Regions from separate parts of the Homo sapiens genome. Here regions 2, 3, 4 and 5 are each linked to region 1. Evidence: promoter capture Hi-C in 16 types of primary human blood cells and fetal thymus (Javierre and others, 2016). All regions are on one chromosome and are shown on one strand. Each heading gives the region's core, a stretch centred on a gene start or on the middle of the fragment in contact. The rest is flanking DNA. Distances are from core to core; before and after follow the strand shown. Region 1 holds the start of OR52M1 (olfactory receptor family 52 subfamily M member 1). Region 2 has its middle 26 kb from the start of LINC02749. Region 3 overlaps LINC02749 (long intergenic non-protein coding RNA 2749). Region 4 has its middle 16 kb from the start of SSU72L5. Region 5 has its middle 42 kb from the start of LINC02749.

The links. Contacts are between HindIII fragments. The CHiCAGO score rates a contact against its expected background, and 5 or more counts as called.
Region 2: a fragment that was not itself captured here is called in contact with the fragment with the promoter of OR52M1 in region 1 in 1 of 17 cell types (M0 macrophages); the score reaches 6.0 in M0 macrophages.
Region 3: a fragment that was not itself captured here is called in contact with the fragment with the promoter of OR52M1 in region 1 in 14 of 17 cell types (M0 macrophages, M2 macrophages, monocytes and 11 more); the score reaches 15.3 in M0 macrophages.
Region 4: a fragment that was not itself captured here is called in contact with the fragment with the promoter of OR52M1 in region 1 in 3 of 17 cell types (M0 macrophages, M2 macrophages and M1 macrophages); the score reaches 6.9 in M0 macrophages.
Region 5: a contact is called between a fragment that was not itself captured here and the fragment with the promoter of OR52M1 in region 1, in 7 of 17 cell types (M1 macrophages, M2 macrophages, monocytes and 4 more). The highest score is 11.1, in M1 macrophages.

Annotation. Positions count from the first base shown.
Region 1 is chr11:4,541,487-4,547,373 of GRCh38, reverse strand. OR52M1 (olfactory receptor family 52 subfamily M member 1) reads right to left here and starts at 2,183. Exons shown (of 1, transcript NM_001004137.1): 1 at 1,230-2,183. The coding sequence starts at 2,183. The coding sequence ends at 1,230. The HindIII fragment of the contact is 8,356 bases long and covers 1-2,645 here.
Region 2 is chr11:4,158,014-4,163,907 of GRCh38, reverse strand. No RefSeq gene overlaps it. Among named protein-coding and RNA genes, the nearest start is that of LINC02749, 26 kb to the left of the region's middle. The HindIII fragment of the contact is 4,071 bases long and covers 790-4,860 here.
Region 3 is chr11:4,198,816-4,204,591 of GRCh38, reverse strand. It overlaps LINC02749 (long intergenic non-protein coding RNA 2749), which reads right to left. Exons shown (of 2, transcript NR_047550.1): 2 at 1,939-2,333. Among named protein-coding and RNA genes, the nearest start is that of LINC02749, 15 kb to the right of the region's middle. RefSeq lists an enhancer at 248-749. The HindIII fragment of the contact is 821 bases long and covers 3,670-4,490 here.
Region 4 is chr11:4,214,901-4,220,420 of GRCh38, reverse strand. No RefSeq gene overlaps it. Among named protein-coding and RNA genes, the nearest start is that of SSU72L5, 16 kb to the left of the region's middle. The HindIII fragment of the contact is 1,514 bases long and covers 1,438-2,951 here.
Region 5 is chr11:4,142,639-4,148,467 of GRCh38, reverse strand. It overlaps the pseudogene OR55B1P. Among named protein-coding and RNA genes, the nearest start is that of LINC02749, 42 kb to the left of the region's middle. The HindIII fragment of the contact is 2,205 bases long and covers 2,591-4,795 here.

The DNA.
Region 1 (5,887 bases), core at 934-3,433:
AATGGGTGTAGCTAATGTCTAAGTGCATGACAACTCAGACCTCCAGGAAAGGCCTTTCAGCACCCTTCCTCAGTTAAGGAAAATGTGGAACAGAGAGGCTTGGAAGCCTTTGAGCTTTAAAAACAAACTTGGCTGAATTCCTGGTTTCACTATTGCTCTCTGAGTGACCTTGGGCAATTCTATCACTTCTGGGAACCTCAATTTCTTCATTTGCAAAATAGAGTAATTCTTACCTTAGTGTGGTTGGGAGGACTATGTCAGTAATCCTGTCAATAGTAACTAAATGCTTTATCCATGTTAGCTCAATGACTAGAACATAGTTAATATTTAATCTGGAGGACAAAGTCAGTGTCTCTATAAACTATATAACTTGCAACTTGTTGCTGATTCATTTTAAGGATGTAGCACACTATCGGCAGGAATCCTACAGATGGGATTAGGGTTTGGGGAGTGTTTCTGTGGGAAAGGGAAGACTTATTTCCACAGAGTCCTCATATGCATCAAGCCTGCAGAGAATACAACAAAGGCAATATTGAGACATGGTAACCTTGTCTCATTTTCCTTCATTGACCTGACAATTTTTTTTCAGGCCACATTCTCTTTCATAAGTATCCCCAAATCTTCTGGGCACATACAAGTGAGTCTTCTAGAACACATTTTTACAGGCAGTTTGAACAGCATCTCAATTAAGAGAGGCTTAACTCAGGAAGGTGTCACCTTGCAGCTAAGGAAACTTCAATTAAATGACTTAGTTTTTTAAATTTACCTTTTAAAGGATATACAGAAAACAAAGAATAGAAAGTATTAATACATAACTTTACAATGTATTACAAATTCCAACCAAATGTGGAGCTAGGCAGCTTAAGTAACTGTATGTAGTTCATAAAGCAAGGGTGTTCTGTCCTATTTCCTCATAAAATATAAACAATAATACCTCATGTCAGGATATTTTCAAGAATTACATGAACAATGCTAAATATTAGCAGCTTGTCGTTATCACGGTTGGTTTACCTTCTTTGTAGCTCAAATATCCTTTAGTTGTAAGTTTTGTATTTTCCACCTTTTAGGACTTAGAGTTGTATACTTTCTTAGAATTCCTTTGGAACTACAAAAGTTGGAGAGCACAGTGCCTAATACTTCAAACTGCTTGTAAAGTTCCTAATGGGAAGCAGCCTACCATATTTAAACACCTTCTCCATGAGCTTATTTGAGAGAGAAGAAAATAGTAATCATCTAATCTTCATTTCTATCCTTGGTATTTGGAGAAGGCTCTCTCGGATCTGCTTGGTGCGAACAGCATAGACAATGGGATTGAGGATTGGAGGAATGAGGAGATAGAAGTTGGCCAGCAGAGTGTGGACTGGAGGAGGCACACACTGACCAAATCGGTGAATCAGGGAAGAAACAGCAATGGGAACATAAAAGATCAGGATGGCACAGAGGTGAGAAGCGCATGTCCCCAGGGTTTTAAGCCTAGCCTCAGGAGTGGCTAACCCCATCACGGCCCTGAAAATCATCACATAGGATGCAGCAATAGCCACTGAGTCCAGGATCAACACCAGAAAGCCGATGCTCAGCCCATAGACATTATTGACCCTGCTGTCGCCACATGTCAAGGCAACTACAGCCATGTGCTCACAGTAGGAGTGGGAGATAACATGGGTTTTATAAAGGGGCAGCCGCAGGCGGATCATCAGAGGCAGAGGTCCAATGTAGAGAACACCCCGGAGGAGAGAAACAAGCCCCAAACGACCCACCACTGTATAAGTGAGCACCATGCTATGACGTAGTGGGTTGCAGATGGCCACGTAGCGATCAAAAGCCATGGCAAGGAAGATGCCTGACTCAACAGTGGCAAAGCAGTGGATAAGGAACATTTGGCCCAAGCAGGCGTCCAGGCCAATGTCACAAGCACCGAACCAGAAGATTCCCAGAAGTTTGGGTATAGTGGAAGTAGACAGAACCAGGTCAATGGCAGCCAACATGCACAAGAAAAAGTACATGGGCTGGTGCAGGCTGCGTTCTATCTTTACCACAGCCAGGATGGTCACATTCCCCACCACAGCCACCAGGTACATGGAGCCAAAGGGGATGGAGAGCCAGACGTGTAGGGACTCCAGCCCTGGGATGCCAGTGAGCCAGAAGGAGCTGGGTACTGAGCAGACATTATGAAAAGTGAGCATGGCTATTTATATGTGAACCTTCTCACTTGTACCACTAAACGCAGCAGGATGTTTTTCCTGGAAATAAAAGACAATATTTTACTCTAAGTTCCTATAATAATAGGGTCACTGACTAGATGTTAGATAAGTCATCTTTAGAAGAAATTCTAGAACGTCAGTGTCACATTATACTAAAATGTTCGCAAAATCTTAGAAAGTACAAGCCAAAACACTCATTTGAATGAAATACATCTTTTTGCAGTATGACCTTCGAGGAGTGATATTCTTGCATCAGTGAATGAACTGACCTAAAGCAAATAACTATCTGGTCATTTACCACTGCAGGTAGGCTATGAGGTGGTGCTTGAGATCATGTTGGAAGGTTTTAGAGTGTACAGCTACTTGAAAGAAAAGGAGATGCACTGAAGTGTCAGAGGGTCAGAGACACCTGGGACTATCTAGGCTCTATGGTAAACCAAAGCTTAAGCCTGGGACCAGAATTGACTACTGGATGAGCTGAAATGTCTAATTTGCAGGCCAAAATCACAAGGCAGAGACTTGGGGTGGTAAAGATGACACCTTCCAGAGGGTATAGAAACAAAGTGATTTCTGAAAGATGAAAGCTGACCAAAGCTCAGTTTATGCGTATTTGATACCCAAAGGCAAAGCCTGGCAAGGGCCTCCTCCCTTCATGAAGACTGAATATGAAGAAAAGGCTCCAGAAACAGAGGGTTATCAGCAGGGAGGAAGAAGACATTCAGTGCAGAGTAGCATGAAGCCTAAGACAAATGTTTGGCCATGAAACACCCTTACTTGAAGTCCAGAGCAACTCACTAAAAAGATGTCAATTTAAAGCAAATACATGAAAACAATGTGTTGTCTGATTTTTTTTTTTTAAATCTTTGTCTAAAAGACTATACCAGAATGTGTTCCTTATATATCAGAGGAATACGAAAGGTGAGGAGCGTGTAAGAAGTTTAATGCAGTACATCTTAAGCCTAGTTAGGTTGATTACAGAATAGTCAGCAATCTGGGCTTAGGACTTTTCTAGATCTGTCTTCAGATCTTGGCAGTGAGAGCTTAGGTGAACTGCTTTATCCCATTAGTGAAATACAACTAACTACACTTTGCAACAAACTTAAAGCCATGGCCTAGAGAAGTTGTCATGACTAAATGAAAATGCAGGGCCTGACAGTAACACTAAGCATTAGTTCTTTATTCTGTTGAGACTAACATGCAAAGCCAAAAATGTTCAAACTTCAAAAGACTCTGGAATGTCTATCTCCAGGAAGCTGTGGTGCTTGGGAGGGTGACTGCTGTAAGTCTGACATTATCCCATAAAACCTCTCCATAAGCTGGGCTCACCTTCAGATTCTCAAAGATTATGACAAGTAGACATAATGTTGGCAATAACTGCAAAATAGGGAAAATAAAAAGGCTGAGTCATTGGGGCTGGGAAGGAAAGGAGTACACAGGAAGTGGCCTGTGAAGTCATCAGGTAGAATGGAGTGATGGATTTAGTTGGAAGGAGGTGGCTTGGCTTCCTTAACCTATATTCTGGTTGTTCTTCACTTGCACTCTCCATTTGCATAGATCCCTGTTCTATGTCTCAGATGCTATATTTTACTCATGGGCTGTATCACCCAGATTCCCTTGTCCTCTATTTTCCAGGTGGGCTCAGTCAATGTGAGGCACTAACAGGAGATATGAGGGTAAAACCAGAGATTAGAGACCTACTCTCTAGTTCCCTTCCTACCAGCTATGTTTGGCAGTGTCTTGGTCTTCTACCAAAGGCCCCAGCTCCTGAAGTGACCCTTTGTGTTTTCTGGTAACCATGCCCTGCTTTGCCCGGTCAGTTCTAGGCTAAGTTGTGCTGCTTACTGTTAGTCCCAGTGCCTCCCCATCCCTTGTCAAGTTCCTTAACTCTTGTCAAGCCTCTGCAGATAGTCCCTTCAACTGCCCCTTTGACTATGCCACTTGTTATTTCATGAATATATCAGACCAGATCCCAACAGTATATAATCTTTACCCAGTATTATCTCTTGACAAGAAGATTGCTTCCTCAGTAGGACACAGAATCTGAAAGTTGACAAGTCACAGAACTAATCCTAAAGGCAAAAGAGCTATAAACTCATGACAATCGGGGGCTAGATAATCTTTCCTCTGATATTTAGATTTACAATAAAGGGAGACTTTTCTATTTTACTTGTATGTCTAATCAAATGGCTTTTATAGCTTGAATATGTCCTACTAAGCAAAGCTGTAATGTGGAAAAGTTTTGTTCTACTCCAGAAATGTAGAGTTCTTGAATGGAAAAATTAACAGGACTCAACCAAGTGGATTTTTCTGTTGCCAAGATTCCTAAGTACAGCTATTACCCCTCCTATATTAGTGAGAAAGCTGTTTCAGGGTCCATCTTTCCTTCTAATGCAATTTGAATCCCTTCACTTTTTCCCTGGCAAATGGCTCCCTTCTAGATTTGTGCAGAGATCATGTTATAGGAGGAACTTACAGGCACAAATCACAGATGAGACCAAGTGTGAACTGGTCTCATCTGTGATCTGAATTGCTTGGTGAATTGTGGACACAAGAGGAAGTGACTTTTCATGAAATCCAATAGGTGTCTCTGGTATCACAGACCTTGTTCCAGCCATGTCAGATGTCCCCTCTGGACTGACCTGGAACTCTGGAGAAGGTAGAATTTATCTTCTCTCGCTTTCCTTCCTCATACCTGACAACATACAGGGCTGTTTCTTGATGGATACCCCCATTTCATCTCTTCCTATTCATTTCTGGGAACATGTTGTGAAACTGAAGAGCATATCCTTGACTAGAGAGATGCACTTCAGCTACTACATGGGGAGGACCGACTCTTGGGATAAGTTTTTGACCCCTGTCTTTTCCCCTAAGATCCTAACACTGAGAGTAGCTCTTTAATTCATACCTCATTTGTCAGGAGCAGTTCTCATACCTTAAATACAGTAGTCTACTGCAGCTTCTGTGCAAGGATGCTATGAGCATAAGCATTCTGCAAAGCAACCTCTCATCTGAGTGATCCATCCAAACACATCCACCATAACCTGCCATGGCTTTTACCATTCCTCATCCTGCTTACTACCGTCCAGTGAGACTGCATTTGTGTTTCCCAACTGCAACATGTCCTTTTGCTTCTGAGAAGAATACATGTTCTTTCCTGATACTGAAATGACGTTCTTCCTTCCTCTCTCGCCTAGTGAATCCTTACATGTTCACCTTGCCATAGCTTAGATATCCACTTTAATGAACCTTGCCTTGATTCTTGGTTCCACGCCCTATTTCTGTACTGTCTGAATAGTTCTCTGAATTGTCTTCTGATGTATCTTTCCCCAAACAGAATAAGTTCTAATAGAGTGGTGATCTTGCCTGTCTTACTAGAAGTCATGTGCTAGCACAGTACCTGGCTCTGTTGAATAAGAATAAAATAAAATAAAATTTAAAGAACATGGTGATGTATTCAAAGGTCTTGTATTGTCATTAGTGAACTAGAGGCTTCATCAGTCTCCTTGTTTGTGGCTCTGTGGGAACTCTACCCATTCTAAATCCCCTTCCCAGAGAATGCCTTTCCTGAGTCTTGCCTTAGACTTAAAGGAGTATGAGCTAAGTTGACTGCCCAAGGTCTATTCATTCTTAAGCTGGGAACTCCTCCCTATGACCCCTATTCTTTTTCTATATCATTCTTTGTAAGA
Region 2 (5,894 bases), core at 1,576-4,075, 380 kb after region 1:
ATTTTCATACATACTGTAAAGAAATGCCTTTTACACCACAGAGTGATTTGAGATGAGCTAGGTGGAGCATGACTCAAAATATTACCAGCATTACAGATTTATTATTTGGGTTAAGGTATTTAATTGCCTGGTTGAAATGCAAATCACCCTGTAGGAGTCTATGCTGATAAATTTATAATTCTTTATGAAATAGACAAATCTCCAGAAGGATATAATTTTTCAAATTTACTTAAGAAAAGATTAAAAACCTGAGTAGATTAATTACCAAGAAAGAAATCAAAAAGCATTAATAAATAATTATTACCTGAAAGACACCTGGACCCAGGTTTTATGAGTAAGTTCTTCCCAAACTTTCAAAAGATGAAAAATTCCTGTGCTATAAAAAACTATCCTAGAACATGATATTTAATTAGGAAATTGAGTGAATTCATTATGAAACTAGCATAACTGCTATTCCAAAACTTCATAACGATAGTTCCAAAAGAGGCCAGGCACAGTGGCTCACACCTATAATCCCAGCACTTTGGGAGGCCAAAGTGGGTGGATTGCTTGAGCCCAGGAGTTTGAGACCAGCCTGGGCAACATGGCAAAACCTCCTCTCTACAAAAAATACAAAAATTACCAGGGAGTGTGGTGTGCACCTGTAGTCCCAGCACCTCAGGAGGCTGAGGTGGGAGGCTCTATTGAGCCCAGGAGATTGAGGCTGCAATCTAGCCTGGGTGACAGACCAAGACCTTGTCTCAAAAAATAATAAAATAAAATTTAAAAAATAACAGATGCTGGCAAGCTTCTGCAGAAAAGGGAACACTTATACACTGCTGGTGGGAATGTAAATTAGTTCAGCCACTGTGGAAAGCAGTTTGGAGATTTCTCAAAGAACTTATAACTACCATTTAGTACAGCAACCCCATTATTGGGTATATACCCAAAGGAATAAAAATTTGTTCTACCATAAAGACACATACATACATATGTTCATTGCAGCACTATTCACAATAGTAAAGACATAGAATCAACCTAGATGCCCGTCAACATTATACTAGATAAAGAAAATGTGGTACATATATACCATGGAATACTATGCAGCCATAAAAAAAGAATGAAATAATGTCCTTTCCAGAAACATGGATGCAGCTACAGACCATTATCCTAACCAAAGTAACACAGGAACAGAAAACTAAATACCACATGTAATCACTTATAAGTAGGAGCTAAACATCAGGTACTCCTGTACACAAAGATGGCAACAGTAGACAGCAGGTCCTACTTGAGGGTGGAGGGTGGGAGGAGAACGAGAACTGAAAAACTACCTATCGAGTACTATGCTTATTCCCTGGGTGACAAAATACTCTGTATGCCAAACCCCCATGACACACAATTTACCTATATAACAAACCTGCACATGTAACCCTGAAACTAAAATAAGAGTTAAAAAAATAATCAATTATTGGCCCCACTTCAGACCAATTTAACCAGACTTTCTAGGAATGGAGTCCTGGCAGTACAATGGTGCTGTTTAAAAACTCCTCTAGAGTTTCTACTGGGCATCCCAAGTTGAAATCTTCAAGCTAGAAAGAAAATCATTTCCTGTAGAGGAGACAGCATTGAGTAAAGGTCTAGATCAATGGTTTCCAATTATATTAGAGTTTCCTGGGTAGCTTTTTTAAAAACACTAATGTTCAGACATTAAGGAAATCAGAATCTTTGGAGACAGGGTCCAGGTCCTGGTATTTTTTTAAGGCTTCCTAGGTGATTCTAATGTAAACCAAGATTGAGAACCACTGGCTTATATTGAGAATGGGATGAGCATTTAGGGAATATATTAGTTTCCTGTTGTTACTGTAACAAATTATTACCAGCTTGGTAGCTTAAAACAACACAAATTTATTATCATACAGTTCTGAAGGTCAAAAGTCCAAAGTAAGTTTCACTGGGCTAAAACCAAGGTGTCGGCAGGATTTGCATTCCTTTCTGGAGGACTTAGGGGAGAACCTGTTTCCTTGCCTTTAGCTGCTTCCAGAGGCTGCCCAGATTCCTTGTCTGGTGTCCTCTTCCCCCATCTTTCTTCATCTTCAGTGCCAGCAAGCACATGACTCTGACCTCCGCTTTCTTCATATTCCCAGGGAAGTAGAACATGGGCATCTTTAGGGGAAGTGGGTCATTATTCTGCCTGCTACATGAATAATAGATAAGTTTGGGTAAAACACAGTAGAACAGATGTAGAGAAAGACACAAGTATTGAAGAGATGGTCTGGCATCACATTTTGAAAGGCCTTGGAGCTAAGCTAGAGAGTTTGTGTTTTATTTAAAGTAAATGCTGGTGACTTCAGATAACAGGCTTCAAGAACTACCACAACTGAAACAGCAGAGGCCACAGGCTACCCTGGGAAGAAACAACCTCCCTCTTCCCATGAGGCTGATTGTTTACCTCTGATGTTTGCTGATAAGTAAAGACCACTATGATAAGATCAGAGAAGACCTCTGCTTCAAGGATTGGAGAAGTGTCACCAAGCACCAAGGATGGACAGAAAATAGCGACTTGAGCCAGAAAAGGTATAACCATTCATTGGGTTTAGGATATGTCCACCATCTCTGATTGTCAGGGCCCAGAAGGACAGAGACGGGACACTCAAAGAGGATAATTGGGGAGAGTATAATGAGGGACTATTTATAAACACAGATGGGATTAAGTAAGCCAATGAGGGACAGGGCAGCACCCTTGAATTTGCACAGCAAAGAGCCAGGACCACCCCATGATCTGAGGGTCAAATGGAGAGAGTAGACACAGAAACCCAAAAAGTAGTGATAGAAAAACGTCACCCAACCAGGGATGTGGTCTTCAGCAAGGAATCTGTGACCTGGCAGAGAGGGAGCCAGGGGAACCAACTCCCTGACCTCAGTGTTCTCCCAACCTCCTACTCTAGTGGGGAGTGAAATTTGGCTGAAGCCACTGAAAGCCAGCAGGCAAGGTAATGTGCTGATGCAGTCTTCCTGAAACAGGCAGACAGCAGAATGGAAAAGATAGCAAGTAGATCTGGAGGGACAAAGGAAAAATACATGGCACAGCAGGAAACATTAAAAGTTACGAAGCCTCAAATTTAATATAGAGCTACCATATCATCCAACAGTCCTACATCTGGGTATTTACCCAAAAGAATTGAAATCAAGATATTAGAGAGATATCTGCACTCTCATGTTTATTGCAGCATTATTCACAATAGCAAGAGGTGGAAAGAACCTAAATGTCCATGAATAAATGAACAGATAAAGAAAATATGATGTATGTGCAATGTGTAAACCCAAAAATAAAAATCTAAGCCCCCAACTCACTGAATGGAGCCCTCTCTTGACCAAGGGGATCCCAAAGAAACCTGAAAAGCTAGTTCAGGCCATGATGAGAAGTGGGGATCAGACATGCCTGGTTATACCCTTCTCCCTTTAGAGTTTAGGTACAACTGACCAGCATTCACATTAAAATAGAGATCATAAGACTGAAAAAATAGACTCTTTGTAGCAAATAGACTCTACTCTTTGTAGATCCAACTCCAGACTCTGGTATAGCATCACTTGACAGATGGTAGGCCCTGAAGGAAATCAAAGTATTTTACCCCAAAATATATTTCCTTTGACGTATTTTGAAGTGACCTTGCAAAGCTGTCTCTTAGTGGGGAAATCTCCGTTCTGTAGAGAGTCATCTCTTCCCTTTACTAGGTATTTTCCAGAGAGCCTGACACCTTTTAAAGGCCAATAAGAGATGTATTTTGTTTGTTTTTTTGTTTTTTGGGGTTTTTTTTGTTTTTTTTTTAGATTTTCTTTGATTTTTTTTATTTTTCTTTTTTTATTATTATTAAACTTTAAGTTTTAGGGTACATGTGCACAATGTGCAGGTTAGTTACATATGTATACATGTGCCATGCTGGTGTGCTGCACCCATTAACTCGTCATTTAGCATTAGGTATATCTCCTAATGCTATCCCTCCCCCCTCCCCCCACCCCACAACAGTCCCCAGAGTGTGATGGCCCCCTTCCTGTGTCCATGTGTTCTCATTGTTCAATTCCCTTCTACGAGTGAGAACATGTGGTGTTTGGTTTTTTGTCCTTGCGATAGTTTACTGAGAATGATGATTTCCAATTTCATCCATGTCCCTACAAAGGAGATGAACTCATCATTTTTTATGGCTGCATAGTATTCCATGGTGTATATGTGCCACATTTTCTTCATCCAGTCTATCATTATTGGACATTTGGGTTGGTTCCAAGTCTTTGCTATTGTGAATAGTGCCACAATAAACATACGTGTGCATGTGTCTTTATAGCAGCATGATTTATAGTCCTTTGGGTATATACCCAGTAATGGGATGGCTGGGTCAAATGGCATTTTTAGTTCTAGATCCCTGAGGAATCGCCACACTGACTTCCACAATGGTTGAACTAGTTTACAGTCCCACCAACAGTGTAAAAGTGTTCCTACTTCTCCACATCCTCTCCAGCACCTGTTGTTTCATGACTTTTTAATGATTGCCATTCTAACTGGTGTGAGATGGTATCTCATTGTGGTTTTGATTTGCATTTCTCTGATGGCCAGTGATGATGAGCATTTTTTCATGTGTCTTTTGGCTGCATAAATGTCTTCTTTTGAGAAGTGTCTGTTCATATCCTTTGCCCACTTTTTGATGGGGTTGTTTTTTTCTTGTAAATTTGTTTGAGTTCATTGTAGATTCTGGATATTAGCCCTTTGTCAGATGAGTAGGTTGCGAAAATTTTCTCCCATTTTGTAGATTGCCTGTTCACTCTGATGGTAGTTTCTTTTGCTGTTCAGAAGCTCCATCTATCCTCTCTGAGGCCTGTTACTTAGAAGCTTTATCTACATAACAAGAACCTTGGCTTCCACAACCCCCCTTAATTCAAGCATTTCTTTCTGCTGACTTCAACTCTTTAGGCAAAGCTTAACCTTTTCAACCAATTGCCAATCAGGAAATCTTTGAATCCACCTATGACCTGGCAACCCCCACACAACTGCTCCCCCCACCAATAACATCTGTCTCCCTAAAATGTATAAAACCAAGCTCAACCCAACCACCTTGGGCACATGTTCTCAGGATAACCCTCTTCAAATATTTTACAGAGTCTGTTTTTTTCTATCAAGAAGTAGAATATTCAGGCCAGGTACAGTAGCTCACACCTATAATCCCAACACTTTGGGAGGCCAAGGTGGGTGGATCACCTGAAGTCAAGAGTTCAAGACCAGCCAGCCCAAAATGGTAAAACCCTGTCTCTACTAAAAATACAGAAATTAGCCAGACATGGTGCACACACCTATAGTCCCAGCTACTCGGGAGGCTGAAGCAAGAGAATCTCTTGAACCTGTGAGGTGGAGGTTGCAGTAAGCCAAGATCGCACCAGTGCACTCCAGCCTGGGTGATAGAGCAAGACTCCATCCCCAAAAAAAAGAAAAAGAAATAGAAATAGAATATTCAGTCATTAAAAAAGAAAATCCTGTCATATGCTACAACATAGATGACACTTGAGGACACTATGCTGAGTGAAATAAGCCAGTCACAGAAAAATAAATGCTGCATGATTCCACTTACATGAAGTATCTTTTAGTCAGACTCATAGAAACAGATGGTAGAATGGTAGTTGCCAGGGACTAGGGAGAGGGGAAAATGGGGAGTTGCTTTTCAGTTGGGTATAAAGTTTTAGTTATGCAAGATGAAAAGGTTCTAGAGATATGCTACAAAATATTGTACTTTTAGTAAACAATACTTTACTGTACACTTAATTAAGAGGGTTAATCTCTTTTTTTTTTTTTTGGAGATGGAGTCTCGCTCTGTCACCAGGCTGGAGTGCAGTGGCATAATCTCGGCTCACTGCAACCTCTGCCACCTGAGTTC
Region 3 (5,776 bases), core at 2,831-5,330, 340 kb after region 1:
TCAGCCTGAGATGTTGGAGAGAAAGTGGAAACAGAGCGTCTGAGTTGGTCCCAGGGCCAGTCTCCTGCCCACATCCCTCCAGGATTCTGGGACATAAGCTTTTGTGTTTCCTCTGTGTCGTCCTGGATGCTGAGAGTGGGGCTGCTCAGATGGATGCTGGTAGTCCCCCGCCTGCCCAGCGAGGCCTCCTTGCCCTCACTGGAGCCATTCCCTGGTATTGACACATCTCTCCTTCCCCACCCCCAGGGGGACAGATATTTTTGTAGTTGAGGCAGAGGCCATGGGACAGACAGGGCCATTTTATTTGGGAGGGAAGGAGAGTTTAGAGAAAATGTGGAAAGCCTCTGCCTCCTTGAGGAGGTGGGGCTCTTCGCTCTGGCGTTCCCCTGTGCTCTGGATAGTGCAGCTCAGAGCTCACTGTCTGGGAGACACTCACTCCATTCCTCTCAGCCCTGCCGCCTCTGTGCCAGCCACTGCCTGTTCTCTGGGTTTCTCTCTCTGTCCCTCTCGTTACTGTGTAAATCGAGTCCTTGTCCATTTCTCGTAGGTCACTTCCTCAGCCTCACTTTCTAGTTAACAGTTTTCTGATTCTCTGAAATTATTTCCCATTATTCACTGTGTCTGATGATAACCTTCTCTTTTTCTCTTTCTGCAGCCAGGTTTGTATTGTGCCGTCTACAAGTGGCATAAACACAGGAACCCCTTTCCCTGTTCCTGGCCTGTGGACCTTTCTGTGAGGCATGGGGTAGCAGGAGAGAACAACAATGACAACGCCCTTTCAGGCTCCCTCTTCTCATGAACAGCTCCCTCTACAGCACAGAGAACAGTCTCTCCAGGCCTCTCTGGAAAGCAGCATTTTAAATTGCCTCACACCAGCTCCTGTCTAGAGTCCAGCCGAACAACAGAAGGAAAGTTCACCTTTACCAGTAACCCAAGAATTTCTAACTAGGGAAAAAATGGTGCCATTTTTTTCTACTGGATCACCTCCCGCTCCAGCGAAGATGAAAAGGCTAGCTAATTCCAGTGCTGGCATGGGTGTGAGCAAGCTGACAATGGGTAGGCTGTTGTTGGGATTATAGACCAATAAAACCTCACTGGATAATAGTTTAGCATTACAGATTTTTTTAAACCCTTTAACGTATATGCTTACATTTTACCCATCAATCCAAATCTGTCAGCTTATTCTCAAAAAATAACCATACAAGTTGTAAAATGTATATTAAAAGATAATGATCATGTCTGTTTTAATATGAATAAATTAAAAGAGCACATAAATACAAAATTATATTTAAAACTGGCTAACTTCGTTTTAGTACATCTATCTAATGGGCTGCATGAATACATTAGCAGCGTATGAAAGGAATATTTATTGATGTGGAAACATCTACTTCCTATATTACAGCAGGCAGTGTAAGCCTGATGTCTGCTTTGGTAGCATCTTAGTGGGGCACAGATTGTATGGAAACAGAAAGTTCATTTTAGCACAACAGCTATGGGTCAGGATTTTTTGTGGGCTGTTCTTGAGTAGAGTTAAACAGTTTTTGAGAAGCAAGCCAGAGTGTCTCTGAAGAGAACAGAGTGGTAGCTGTAGCAAGGATAGTCCTATGTCAGTGCTCACTCATGACACCCAGGTTGTGCTGAAAGGATTGTGATGACATTGTCAGAAGCATTCCATTGATGTGACATCAAGCTCCAGTTTTTACAGGACTGAAGGTTGGGATTTGTGGTGTAAGGCAAACTTAAGTACTAGAAAGGGCCTGTACTTCCTTCTGAAGTGTCTGAAGTGATACTTACTAGATTTTGTCAGTAATTAGTTAAATTCAGGGCAGTAGCTGTGGTTTGAAAAAGATGCACAAGGGAGTTTTGGTTTTTTCTTAAGTGGTAGAAGGAGATGACAGAGGTCAAAATTAATAAGACAAAGATCAAGTTGATCACATAAGCATTCTAGAAGGTGTTTTAATGTTTTAGAGGGTATCAAAGTGTGATAATGGAAAATAAAAAAGGTGCTGAAGAATACAAAAGTTAATCTTGTTCTGTCATCTTGAGCAGAAGCTACCAACTTCTGCAGTCAGCACTTTTGGAGGATTTCTAACAGCTCTCAGATTAGGAGCTCCTGGTGGGATGGATGCCCAGTGGTCAGGAAGGAGTGATGTGTGTCTCTGAAGTTGAGAAACATGAATCCAAGGATCAACACCTTGGAGTTCTACTGCTGTGTCAGTTAACAGAGGCTTAAGAGCAGTTTTTCTCTGGTGCCCTTTTCAGAAGACCAAATCCCCAGGTTACAGAGCATGCAGGGCCTGCACAGGTGGCTGTTGTAGAAATGCAGCGTTTACCTGTTGGTGATAAAGCTGGAGTTATTGTGAGTACCCTTCAGCAATGAATCATATCAGCTTGTACTCATAATGTAGAATCTAGGATTGCAAGTAGTGAGGAAGCCTGTTATGAATTCCAAAGGTGGCCACCTGTAGGTCCTGAAAATTGGTCTTACTTCCATCAACACCAATAGCACTCCTCAAGCCTTAGGAGTGTGAGGGTTTTGAGAGCTCTGATAATTATACTTTTAGAATTTTAGTTCTATCTTTTCCCTGAATTTTGTGGATGATAAAGGTCAGTAGAGATTCTGAGTAAAAAGTAAAGCATTGCAGGGTTCAGTAACAACAGTACCAGTGATATGTGTGTTCCTCTTAACTGCAAAATAAGTTGGGATTTTCCAAGTCAGAAATACAACAAAATTAAGCAAATTTGTTCCTACCACTATAGCTACCACTCTCCAGTAAGGTAAAACATCAACTAACCCTAAGAATAAACAACAATAATCAGAATGCACTCAGCACATTTGGAGACGTTCAAAGGGGCAGTGAGACTTCGGTTCCTGTCCATGACCTATCCTTAAAATCTTGCCAGGATTGTGTCATTGTCAGGTTGGACATATTTTGGAAATGTCTATGAAACCTCCTAAAATTACCCCCATCAATGTTGGTTCAATATCATGACAAATAAAAAAGAACAAGGTCATGTCCTTTGCAGGAACACGGATGGAGCTGGAGGCCATTATCCTTAGCAAACTAACACAGGAACAGAAAACCAAATACCACATGTTCTCACTTGTAAATGGGAGCTAAATTATAAGAACACATGGACACAGAGAGGGGAACAACAGACACTGAGGCCCGCCAGAAAGTGCAGGGTGGGAGGAGGGTGAGGATAAGACAAAATAACTAATGGATACCAGGCTTAATACCTGGGTGACAAAATAATCTGTACAACAACCCCTGTGGCATGAGTTGACCTATGTAGCAAACCTATACATATACCCCTGAACTTAAAATAAAAGTCAAAAAATAAAAAATAAAATAAAAATCATGGCAGATTTATCTCTTGTATTATGGGTAATATCATGAAGCACTTTTGCTAAATTCTACATTTATCATGGCCATTTCTTTAGGTAATGGAAAACTTCTCAGGGTTCCTTAATTTGCTATCCATTTTATAAGGATTCCTGTAACAGTCAGAAAATGTCCTTTTTTTTTAAAGCATTTCAAAATCATGGGCCAACCCAAAATCATACCCACCATCAGGACAAGTATTTGTTTTTTATCTTTTGTTGGCTGGCATGTCTGGACAAAGGCAATTTAGCCATCTGAACAGATTTCATTTCTTTGAGAAGCTTAAAGGTAAATTCAAGTCTGTGATAGTATAACATAATTGGCAACTTGTAGTTTTTCTTTTTAGGTATGAACCATCTACAAACAATTAAATGAGGGGTGTCCAAAAAATAAAATACTTGGGAATATACCTAACCAAGGAGGTGAAAAATCTCTAAAAGGAAAACTACAAAACACTGCTGAAAGAAATCATTGACAACACAAACAAATGGAAACACATCCCAAGATCATGGGTGGGTGGAATCAATATAGTGAAAATGACCATACTGCCAAAAGGGATCTACAGATTCAATGCAATTCCCATCAAAGTACCATCATCATTCTTCACAGAACTAGAAAAAATAATCCTAAAATTAATATGGAACAAAAAAAGACACCACATAGCCAAAGCAAGACTAAGCAAAAAGAATAAATCTGCAGGCATATTACCCAACTTCAAATTCTACTATAAAGCTATAGTTACCAAAACAGCATGGCACTGGTATAAAAATTGGCATGTAGACCAATGGAACAGAATAGAGAACGCAGAAATAAACTCAAATACTTAAAGCCAACTGATCCTTGACAAAGTAAACAAAAACATAAAGTGGGAAAAGGACACCATCTAGAAGAAAGAAACTGGATCCTCATCTCTCACCTTATACAAAAATCAACTCAAGATGGATCAGAGACTTAAATCTAAGACTTGGAACTATAAAAATTATAAAAGATAACATCAGTAAAACTCTTCTAGACATTGGCTTAGGCAAAGAGTTCATGAACAAGAACCCAAAAGCAAGTGCAATAAAAACAAAAATAGATGGGACCTAATTAAACTAAAAAGCTTCTGCACAGCAAAAGAAATAATCAGCAGAGTAAACAGACAACCCACAGGACGGGAGAAAGTATTTGCAAACTATGCATCATACAAAGGACTAATATCCAGAATCGACAAGGAATTCAAACAAATCAGCAAGAAAAAAAAAATAATCCCATCAAAAAGTGGGCAAAGGACATGAATAGACAATTCTCAAAAGAAGATGTACAAATGGCCAACAAACATATGAAAACTGCTCAACATCACTAATCATCAGGGAACTGCAAATTAAAACCACAATGAGATACCCCCTTACTCCTGCAAGAATGGCCATAATAAAAAAATCAAAAAAACCGTAGATGTTAGTGTGGATACAGTGAACAGGGAACACTTCTACACTGCTGGTGGGAATGTAAACTAGTACAACCAGTATGGAAAACAGTATGGAGATTCCTCAAAGAACTAACAGTACAACTACCATTTGATCCAGCAATCCCACTATTGAGTATCTACCCAGAGGAAAAGAGTTCATTATATGAAAAAGACACTTGCACATATGTTTATAGCAAAACAATTTGCAATTGCAAAAATATGGGGCCAGCCTAAATGCCCATCAACCAAAAAGTGGATTTTAAAAATGTAGTGTGTGTATACATATATATATCACATTTATATACACATATATATGTGATATATATGTGAGATATATATATATATATATAGTGAAATACTACTCAACCATTAAAAGGAACAAAATAATGGCATTTGCAGCAACTTGTATGGAATTGGAGACCATTATTCTAAGTGAAGAAATTCAGGAATGGAAAACCAAATATTGTAGTTCTCATTTATAAGTGAGAGCTAAGCTACAAGGACGCAAAAGTGTAAGAATGATAAAAGGGACGGTGGAGACAAGGGGGAAGTTGGGAGGGGGACGAGGGATAAAAGACTACACATTGGGTACAATGTACACTGCTCAGGTGATGGCTGCATCTCAGTAATTATCACTGAAGAACTTATCCATGTAACCAAAAATCACCTGTTCCCCAAAAACTATTGAAATTTTTAAAAGGTTAAAAAATAAAAATTTAAAAAAAGATCTGAAAGAGCATGATAGTCCCTTAACAGAGGTAAAGCCACCTCCTTTAAAAGAAGGAGGTGGCTGTGTGTAGAGTATTGCCACACTGGACAGTGATATGCGAAGGGGGAGGCAACGATATGTCACAGAGGGTAGGCAACTAGCAAAAAGTGGTGAGGATATTCTGTGAATATAAGCGTCCGCAGAGCATGGGGAACCACTAAGTTTAGCGGAGGC
Region 4 (5,520 bases), core at 945-3,444, 330 kb after region 1:
TACAGCCCATTTGAACTCCTCTATAGACGCTCCTTTTTATTAGGCCCCAGTCTCATTCCAGACACCAGACCAACTTGGACTGCGACCCCCTCCGAAAAAAAAAAAAAAAAAAACTTGTCATCCCTACTATCTTCTGTCTAGTCATACTCCTATTCACCATTCTCAACTACTCATAAATGCCCTGCTCTTGTTTACACTGCCGGTTTACACTGTCTCTCCAAGCCATCACAGCTGATATCTCATGGTGCTATCCCCAAACTGCCACTCTTAACTCCCTCCTAAAGTAAATAATCTTTGCTGGCAGGGCTATGCTGAACCTCCTTAGGCACTCTCTAGTTAAATGTCCTGGGTCCTCCCAATTCTTAGTCCTTTAATACCTGTTGTTCTCCTTGTCTTATTCTGCTCTTTTTTCAATTCATACAAAGCCATATCCAGGCCATCACCAATAATTCTATACGACAAATGTTTCTTCTAACAACCCCACAATATCACCCCTTACCACAAAATCTTCCTTCAGCTTCATCTCTCCCACTCGAGGTTCCCACGCTGCCCCTAATCAAAGCAGCCCTGAGAAACATCGCCCATTATCTATCCATACCACCCCCCAAAATTTTCACTGCTCAAACACTTCAACACTATTATGTTTTATTTTTCTTATTAATATAAGAAGACAGGAATGTCAGGCCTCCGAGCCCAGGCTAAGCCATCATATCCCCTGTGACCTGCATGTATACATCCAGATGGCCTGAAGCAACTGAAGAATCACAAAAGAAGTGATATTTAAATGGCCTGTTCCTGCCTTAACTGATGACATTCCACCATAACAGAAGTGAAAATGGCTGGTCCTCACCTTAACTGATGACATTACTTTGTGAAATTCCTTCTCCTGCTTCATCCTGGCTCAAAAACTCCCCCACTGAGAGTCTTGTGACCCCCCACTCCTGCCCACCAGAGAACAACCCCCTTTTTCCTTTACCTACCCAAATCTTACAAAACAGCCCCACCCCTATCTCCCTTCGCTGACTCTCTTTCGGACTCAGCCCGCCTGCACCCAGGTGAAATAAACAGCCTTGCTGCTCACGCAAAGCCTGTTTGGTGGTCTCTTCACATGGACGCGAGTGAAACCCAGCAGGCTAGGAATAAAGAAGTTGCAGTTCAGGGATACCATGGAGTCTGAGACCTGAGATAGAAGAGGCAGCCTTAGAGAAAACTGGGCCAAAGTTCAGCGTCCCGATTCCCCTTGAGGAGTTTGCCAATTCCTAAGCTGTGCATGTTCAGGGCAAGATTCTCAGCACCTGAATTGAAAGCAGCAGCTGTGAAGCTAAACAGTTATGCAAAGACTAGCAGTCTGATGGTGCTGGGGAGTCAGAGGCTGGAGGTCAGGGCCTGAGGAGGTAGAGCAACCCTTGTAAATAAACACTGAAACACTAGGAAGCTTTGAAACACTAGAAGGGCTGTACTCTAGGAGTAAGGACAACCCAGAAAAAGATCAACGCTAGCACTAGCAAAAGTTAAGCGTCCTCTTAGATGGATCAAGATCTGCCAGTACACTTATCTGCCTGAATTCTTTCTAGAGAAACGTAACAGTTTCAGAGAACAGTCTCTAATTTTTTCATATAAAATCACTATCCATTCACACTCACACACCAAGCATGCCAAGAAACTACCAAATAACTAAAAAAAAATGTGGAAAAAAATAGCGACAGAACCACAGGTGATCTAAACATTGGAACTATGAGGGATTTTAAAATAAAATGATTCTCCAGGTCCTGTTAGAAAATATTGGTTGCATCTTCTGAAAAAGAGATGCCCGCATCTAAGAACTCCAGGAGCTCAAGTAGCTGCCTGTTACCTATTACCACCACAGGCTCAGCAAGAAGATACACAGAGATGTTCCTCCTGAGCAGAATTATTTTTTTTTCTTACATTAAGTTCCAGGGCACATGCGCACAACGTGCAGGTTTGTTACATATGTATACCTGTGCCGTGTTTGTTTGCTGCACCCATTAACTCATCATTTACATTAGGTATTTCTCCTAATGCTATCCCTCCCCCATCTCCCCACCCCAAGACAGGCCCCGGTGTGTGATGTTCCCCACCCTGTGTCCAAGTGTTCTCATTGTTCAATTCCCACCTATGAGTGAGAACATGTGGTGTTTGGTTTTCTGTCCTTGCAATAGTTGTGAGCAAAGTTTTTAATACTAGCTGAATGTTGGTGCAAACTCTAGGTAATGTCATGAACTGAGCTACCAACTGTGAGCTGGGAGGACTCATTTGTATCTCAGACCTGAAGTCTCTATTAAACAGGCCTCTGTGGCCCCTTTTCCTATGGCCTTCATCCAAATATTTATCCTCTAGAGCTTACCATTCTAAAAAGAAAGAAATGATTACCCCATACAAAAGTGGACAAAGGAAAAAAAAAACAGCATTTATTCTCAGTGTATTTTTGCTTAGCCTCTTTCAATAAGCCCTACCCCTATAACTACAAGCCGATTGCTGTGCATCCTTGGACAGCTCATATTTGAATTGTTTTTCCTCTGCAAATGGAGTGATGAGAGGGGTTCCTTGGACTTGAACTAGAAGTTAGAGTCTACCATGACCTAGTGATGGAAAAGAGAATAGGTCTCAGAAACATTTAGGAAATAATCTTGTTAAAACTTCATGATCAATTGGATGAAGGAAGGTCCAGGTCCATGATGATTCCCTGGTTTCTAAATAGGGTGATTGCACCTTAAGTCTTGCAACTAACCAAAATAGATAATTGAGGCAAAGTAGGAAGTTCTACTTTTGCCAAATTCAACTTGAGATATACAAAAGAAAAGTTTCCTAATGCTGTTTATATATTCAACTCTGAGGCTTGGAGAAGAAGCCTTGGATAGAAGTTTAGATTTCAGTGGCATCGGTACCTACAGGTGCACGATGAAGCCATCAGATGAGTGGGAGAAAAAGCTTGCATCTACTCCTTATATGTTTATAACCCACCTCATTTCAAAATCAGATTTGAGTCAGCAGGAGAACATGTAGAAAGAGAATTAAAAGTCAGAATATTTGCCTAATAGACTCTAAATTTAGGGTAAGTAATGAAGAGGGACTCTCCCATAAACAAGAGAACTCAAATGTTGGTTTCACTGAAGCAAAGGATCCAAAAAGTTTTCTTCAAGAAGCAGAGATTGATCAAAACTTGAATTCAGTAGAGAGTTCCAGCATGTGAAGAATTAGGAGTTTTGTTTACCAGAACAGTTTCTTTCTAGTGCTCAGATATAAGTGAGATAGCCCTGGGCTACAGAACAAGTAGAGATAATGCTCCTTCAGAAAATAGGCTTGTCGGGGGAGGGTAGATGAGATTTGGACTTGAGGCAGGGCCTGACACATGTAGAATGTTGTGCTGGTTGTTTTGAAGACAGGACGTATTTAGTGTGTTTTTCATCTTGAGGAGACTTAGATGATATAAATTATGAAGGATATTTTATGTAGCAAGGCCCTAGATGGGATGAAACGGTTTGAAGGGGAGTAGCGGGTGATCTTGAAAAACAGGAACACTTTATTCAGTAGCCAAGAATAAAGTAATAATTAGTTTACTGAGTTGGCACTCTTAGCTAGTATGTGTAATAAGACTTCAGGTATTTTGTCTCCTTTAGGAGCAACACCAGGAAATACGTGGAATTACCCACTAACGGACTAAGAAATGAAGATATTGCCTAAGGTCATTACCACTCAGAACCCAATCTGTCTGATTTAAAAGTCCTGAGCCTGGCCGGGCGCGGTGGCTCACACCTGTAATCCCAGCACTTTGGGAGGCCAAGGTGGGTGTATCACCTGAGGTCAGGAGTTAGAGACCAGCCTGGCCAACATGGTGAAACCCCGTCTCTACTAAAAATACAAAACTTAGCTGGGAGTGGTGGTGCACGCCTGTAATCCTAGCTACTTGGGAAGCTGAGGTGGGAGAATTGCTTGAACCCAGGAGGCAGAGGTTGCAGTGAGCCGAGATCGGGCCACTGCACTCCAGCCTGGGTGACAGAGTGAGACTCCATATCAAAAAAATGTCCTGAGCCCTTAGCCAGTAGGTCTCACTGCCTCTGTGGAGAATATAGGTGTTGATGAGTCCAAGTTGGAAGGTGGGGTGGTGGGATGTTGAGGAGGGCATACCTGATACCCTCCAATTTTGATGTCATTGGTACAATGTTGGCTACCATTTGAATAGAGGGCTTGATGAGAGAATCACCTCAGAAAGGAAGAGATGAACAATATGAATGATGAAGATGCTGCTAAGTGAGAAGCACCCGTGGGGTGGGAGGAAGGACACGACATTATCAATGTTGATCAATGTTGAAGGACATGACATTATCAGTGAAGATGGTGGTGAGAGAGAGGAAGCAGTGGGATGGAGACACCACGAGTCACTTGTCGATTAATGGTTCGTTCACGCAACATTTTTTGAGCACCTTATGTGTACTCCATAGTATTCTCAATGTTGGGCCTACTTAGGTATAAGACATTCTGTCCCCTCAAGCTGTTCACAATCTAATCAACACAGTGGTAAATACTAACATGGGGTCATCTTGGGATGGCAGAACTTACAAGGAGCAACCATCCTAATCTCTGGGGATCAGAAAAGGCTTTCTGGAGGAGGTAATGTCTAACCCTAACCTGGGGGCTGAAGTGTGAATAGGGGTTTACTAAATGAAGGAGAAAGACTTTCAGAGAAATGGAAGAACAGCTTATGGAAATTTCAGACAGGAAGAGAAAGAAGGGCCTATTCTTAGGTGCTTAAGGGAAGGTGAAACATTGAAGGGAAGTAATGGCACTGAGGTTGGATGGGTCACCTGAGGTGAAGCTATCAGAGCCTAGTAAATTTTGCTGAGAAATTGTGATTTTATCCTGAGGTGCTGAGGATTTTAAGAAGTGAAATGAAATAACTAGATGTGCATTTTAGAAAGCTTAGTATAGCCACAATATAAAGAATTCGTTACGAGGGCAAGAATGGGGATTGGGGAGACCAGTCAGGAGCCTGTTTGGTAACCCAGGTGGGGTCAGGAAAATGGCAGAGGGCATGGAGAGAAGGAAGTCACACAGCTGATTCCAGAAGCCCTTTCTCTGACTAGAGAGAGGGTGACTTCTCTACTAAATCATTCTGCTGTTTCTTCTGTTCCCTCTAGACTCTAGTGCCTATGGCCAACCTTGGAAAGGCATGGCCAAAGCACCTGTGTGAGCCACTGCTACAGAATCTGGAGGAGCTGACATAGAGAAGAAACTCAGGTTCCTCCTGAAGGACCCATCCATGGAGAGGTCCTCCCAGATACCCTGGGGCGAGGTGATGAAGACCTGGGACAAGGCCCTCAGCCACAGGAAGAAGATGACCATGAAGAGCTTGGGGAAGCAAATGCAGAGAAAGGCCTGTGTGTGTGGTAAGTGTGGGAAGGATTTGTGTTTGCGGCAACCACCCTCTGCTGTTCTCCCTTTGCATCCTGCCTTCTTTCAGTTCTAGTTTTCCCTTTAGATCCTTTTTTTCCTTTCACCTCC
Region 5 (5,829 bases), core at 2,444-4,943, 400 kb after region 1:
GGAAAACACTTGGAACCATGTCTGGCAGGTAGCAAGTACTGAATAAATGCTAACTCTTCATATTGCTGCTGAGATTCAGAATGCTTGAAGTGACCAGGCGCAGTGGCTCATGCCTGGGAGGCTGAGGCAAGAGGGCTGCTTGAGTCCAGGAGTTCAAAAACAGCCTGGGCAAAATAGCAAGACCCTACCTCTTAAAAAAAAAAAAAAAAAAAGCTTGAAGACTGTTGAATGCTGCCTAGTTTGTGGAGTATCAGGTATGTAGAACAGTCCTGGCCCCTGGCCAAAGCTTTGAAACAACTGCTGTAAGATCCCAATTAAATGTTCAGCCTCCTATTGTCTTCTTCCTGTTCCTCATGCACCTACTCAACAAGCAATTCTCAAGCCTGTCCTGCGCCTCTATGGTGACTCTGTGCTTGGAGCTCCAGTGAGCCCACCAGAAGCATGCTATTATCCCTGCCCTCCTGGAACCTACATTCTGAAAGGAAAGCAAACTCATCATCCATGACACTGAGGACAAGGCCAGGCAGCAGGCACCACAGCCAATCTACGAGGACTTAGGAAGGAAGCAGTCTCTGCAGCCTGTTTCTTGTGATCCAGGAAGACCAGAATTCTTCCTCAGCAACTTCCATCTCTCCTTGCCACAGTGTGTCCCAAGCACACAAGTGATGCCATCATTCCCGGCTGGTTCTTCTCTCCCTGTTAAGCCCCACTTGGGCCTTCCCAGACTCCTTGGATCAAAGATTCTTCTAATACTTTCTCTTCCTCTGAATCAAGAGTCTTCTTTTAACCTTTCTTGTTTTGTCTCTGGCTGTCACTCTTTTTCCCCTGTGTATACTACACCTACTTCTCCTCCTAATCTTTTACTGAGCAAATATCTGGAACATTACAAGTAAACAAGTATCTTGTAAGTTTACATTTACATTTCACACACATGAGGCCAAGAGCTCCCTGAGGACAAAGATTGTTACCTACAAAGATTGTAGGTAACTGTGTAGTTCCTACAACACCCGGCTTAGTACTTATCTGTGCCCCAAAGGAATACATACATGAAGAAGTAGGCTTTTATCACAAATTCCTCAGTGTCTACAACAGAAAAAGTCTTTTTAAAATTGACCATTTTGTTCTAACAGTCTCTGATCCCCACTCTTGGTGCCGGCCCAGGGCCAAAGCTAATGGGTGAGGATGGAAATACAAGCACCTTCAACATCTCCTGCACCAAGTTCTTCCTGGTGGGTTTCCCTGGACTTCGAGAGTGGTGGCCCCTTCTGGTCCTGCCTCTTGTCTTCCTCTTTGTGACCATCATCTCTGCCAATGCCCTGGTCATCCACACAGTGGTTGCCCGGCAAAATCTGCATCAGCCTACGTGTATGCTCATCACTGTGCTCCTGGCTGTCAATATTCGTGCTGCCACAGCCGTGATGCCTAAAATGCTGGAGGGCTTTGTATATTATGCTAACCCCATATCGCTGCATGGCCGCCTGGCCTAGGTGTTCTTTATCTACTTCACCCTCCTCCTGGACTACAACTTCCTCTGGCCATGGCCCTGGACTGCTACGTAGCCATCTGCCACCCACTCTGCTATTCTGACCTGATGACCTCCCAGCTGCTGGGACTGCTGGCCATTCTTGCCTTGACACAGAGCCTGGGAGTGACAGTGCCCTTGGTAGTACTAACTGCAAAAGCCCGATTCTGCCGGACAGCAGTGATTCGACACTTCACCTGTGAGTGCATTGCACTGCTGAGCATAGCTTGTGGAGACCTGACCTTCAACAACTGGCTGGGGCTGGCTATGTGTTTGGTCACTGTAATCTCTGATATGGCCCTGCTGGGGACCTCCTACACCCACATCATCTATGCTGCCTTCCGGATCTCTTCTTGGGGAGCCCAAGCCAAGGCCTTACACACGTGTGGCTCCCACCTACTGGTCATCCTCTCCATCTACGTCTCTGGTCTTTCCACTTCCATCACCTTCTGAGTAGCCAAGACTGTGTCCCAGAATGTCCAGAATCTACTCAGTGCCATATACTTGCTGCTTCCAGGAGCCTTGAATCCTGTCATTTATGGGGTGAGGACTAGGGAGATCCAGCAACATGTAGAAAAGATGCTCTGTGAAAAGGAAACAGCCCAGAAGGCTGGGGAGAAGCCAAAGAGGCTGCAGAACATGAGACTGGAAACCGCCAGGGTGAGGGACTTTACTACCTTCGAAAGTTGGGGCTATGATCTCTGAGAAGAGATAAGCAGGCAGTACTCAGGGACAGGCTCAAATTTCCTCAGCAGATTACGGGCTCAACAGCAGGTTCCCTGTTGGTCAACTGTTGCTTGTTAAATTCTTAGAATGCTCTTTGTTTTCACCCCCAGTAATAAAATTGCATTTACCTATTTATCCTTCTTGGTTTATTTTCTCTGTCCTCCTCCCAACTCCTGAGGAAGTCCCAACTAATATCTGGATGTATGGGGCTTCACTAAGGTAGTCTTATAGAGCAAGTCATACAGACCACAACCTGCCCTGTCTGAACAACACCCAGTCTGAAACAAATAAACAGGCGGGCACTTCCCTGAAGCCCAGTCTCTCCCAAACATAGCCTAAGCTTGACATGAAGTTTATTCAGACCTAATACACAGGTCATCCTTGAGGCTTCCAGTCTAATCCAGGTAGCAGGCTGGGTTCTAGAGTCCAGTCAGTCCCAAACACAAGTGAGGTCCTTTCCTGAGATCCCCAAGCTGTACAGGCACATAGGTCAGGTTTACCCTGCGATGTCCAGTCTAGCCCACACAAACAGGTCAGCTCCTGCCCAAGGGTCCCCAGTCTGACACACACCCAGACCAGGTCTTCTTCGGGGTCCCAGTCTGACCCAAAGACCACAGTAGACCCTACCCTGGGAAACCCAAACTCAGCCAAACACACAGGTCACATTTTGAGGCCACCGTGCTGACCTCAGGCACACAGACAGGGTCCTGCACTGGAGCCCAAGTCTGACCCAAAAACCAGACTAAGCCCTGATCTGGGATCCAGATCAAAGTCGGAACCAAACCCATAGTCAGGCCATTCTTCCTATGACAGCCAATGTGATCTACCTAAAAGCTAACCCCTGCTTAAAAGACTTCCACAGCTCTGGCTGGGCAGTGGCTCACACCTGTAATCCCAGCACTTTGGGAGGCCGAGGCAGGCAGATCACTTGAGGCTAGGAGTTTGAGACCAGCCTGGCCAACATGGCGAAAGCCCGTCTCTACCAAAAATACAAAAATTAACCCGGTGTGGTGGCGTGCGCCTGTAGTCCCAGCTACTTGGAAGGTTGAGGCAGGAGAATCGCTTGAACCCAGGAGGCAGAGGCTGCAGTGAGCCAAGATCGAGCCACTGCACTCCAGCCTGGGCAACAGAGTGAAACTCTGTCTCAAAATTAAAACAAAAACAAAAACAAAAACAAACAAAACAAAAAAAACGTCCACAGCTCCTTATCATCTACAGAAGGGAAAAGTGTTCAGGTAATGTCCCAGAAAGGGGGTGCGGTGCCTGCACACTGCACAGAATTATCTACTAAACAAGCCTGAGTTTTTTCTTCCTGTCAGTTGATCATAGGGAACTCCCCATGAGGCCATAGGTGCAGGCTGGGGAAGAAAAGGCAGTGTAGCAGAACTGGAGACCTCGGGATTTTGGGTCACTTCTTCATGGTCACTTGTGCCTTCAGGGTTTGCTTGAGCCTGATTTTGTATATATCACTTCCATTTGATGATGGACTGCTACTGTGCATGCTCAATTTTATGGCAAGTTGAGTCGGACAACAGCCAACTCAAGTCACATGGTAATTTGGTGGCCCATGGTTAAGTGTTCAGTCTCTACTAAGGCAAACCAAAAGCTATTTCTCAAAAGGAGAGTAGTTACCCACAGGGGATGATGGCAGGGCTTCGGTCCAAAATCCTAAGGGCCTGTCCTGTGATTCACTTACAGGGGTCTGCCAAAGCCTCCAATGAGCATCTCTATCTGCCACTGCCACTTCAAGCACCACTGGATCTGATGGATCAGATGGCCCAAGTAGCAGAGAAACTTCCCTGGCAGCCTGGACCTGTGGCAGTGCCTTGTGTAGTTCTGGGCCCCAGAACTAGCAGCTTTTGGTAAACAGGATGGAGTAGCATGCCCCAGTGTGCTGCTCCAAATGAAACCTAAATTCAATGGGAGTAATTAGATTTCAGAGTGGCACGTGGAGGCACTCAGTTGCCATAACCAAGCTGGAAATGGTTACCATGATTTTTTACCTCCAAGACTCAAAGAGGTACACTAAGTATCATGCCTCTTTCTTGCTTGTAGGAGTCGTCAGATGCAACAATTTATCCTTAACCTTAGAAAGGGTATCTCGACATGCCTCACACTAGATGCCTAGAAATTGTCCTGTGTAGAAGGTGGCCCTGAATTTTAGTGAGATTTCCCACCTTCTGACATGCCAGTATTCTACCAATGAGTCTAGAGAAGTCACTACTTCTTGCTCATAGGTCCAATCGATATAATGTCACCAACGTATTGGACCAGAGTGGTATCTTGTGGAACAGAAAGCTGATCAAAATCCTGTAAACTAAACTATGATATATGGTTGGAGAGTTTATATACTCATGAGGCAGGATGGTGAAGGTGTATTGCTGGCCTTGCCGGCTGAAAACAAACTTGTTTCTGGTGGTCCTTACTAAGGGGTATGGAGAAAAAAGCATTTGCCAGATCAATAGCTGCATACCAGGTATGAGGATATGTGTTAACTTGCTCAAGCAATAGAACTGCCTCTGGTTGGAGTAATCACCCAGTTAAGCTTATGATAATCCATTGTCTTTCTCCAAAATTCGTATTTTCTGCAAAGGCCAAACAGGTGAGTTGAATGGGGATGGGGTGGAAATTATTTCTGCATACTTTAAGACCTTGATGGTGGCACTAATTTCTGGCATCCTTCCAGGAATGCAATATTGATTTTGGTTTATCATTTTCCTAGGTAGAGGCAGTTCTAGTGGCTTCCACTTGAACTTTCCCACTATAATAGCCCTCACTCAAGTCAGAGAACCAATATGGTTGGTTCTCTGTGTCAGTTGCTGAGTGTATCTATTCCAATTACGCATTCCCGAACTGCATAGTGAAATAACCACAGGATGGTTTCAGGGATCCCTGGAGCCACTGTGAGACAGACTGGAGGTAAAACTCCATTGATTACCTGACCTCCATAAGCTCCTACTCCAGCTGGAAGATCACAGTGACGTTTTAGTTTCCTGGAACTAGTGTCAGTTTAGAGTCTGTGTCCAGTAATCCTCAAAAGGTTTGATTATCTCTTTTTCCCAATGTAGTTACTAGTAAAAGGCCATAGATCCTTCTGGGAAAGGCTGGGAGAAAGATTTAACAGTATATATCTTTGATAGTGCAGTGGGATCCTTCCTCAAGGGGACTTGGTCTCCCTTTCATTTGAGGGGTTCTGGGTCTGTAAACTAGTTCAAATCTGGGAATTGATTGAGGGGCCATAATTCTGGTTTTATTATTCAAATTAGACTTGTTCACTTAACCGGAAACTCTTCTGCTTATATAGATCAAGTTAGAATTTAATAGATTCCCCATGTATTTCACCTCGAGGAACTCCATGATCATCTAGCCAAACCGTATCTCTGTGAGTCAGACTTTTTTTTTTTTTTGAGACAGAGTCTCGCTCTGTCACCTAGGCTAGAGTGCAGTGGCACAATCTCAGCTCACTGCAGCCTCTGCCGCCTGGGTTCAAGCAATTCTCCTGCCTCAGCCTCCCAAGTAGCTGGGATTACAGATGCACGCCACAACACCAGGTTAATTTTTGTATTTTTGGTAGAGACAGG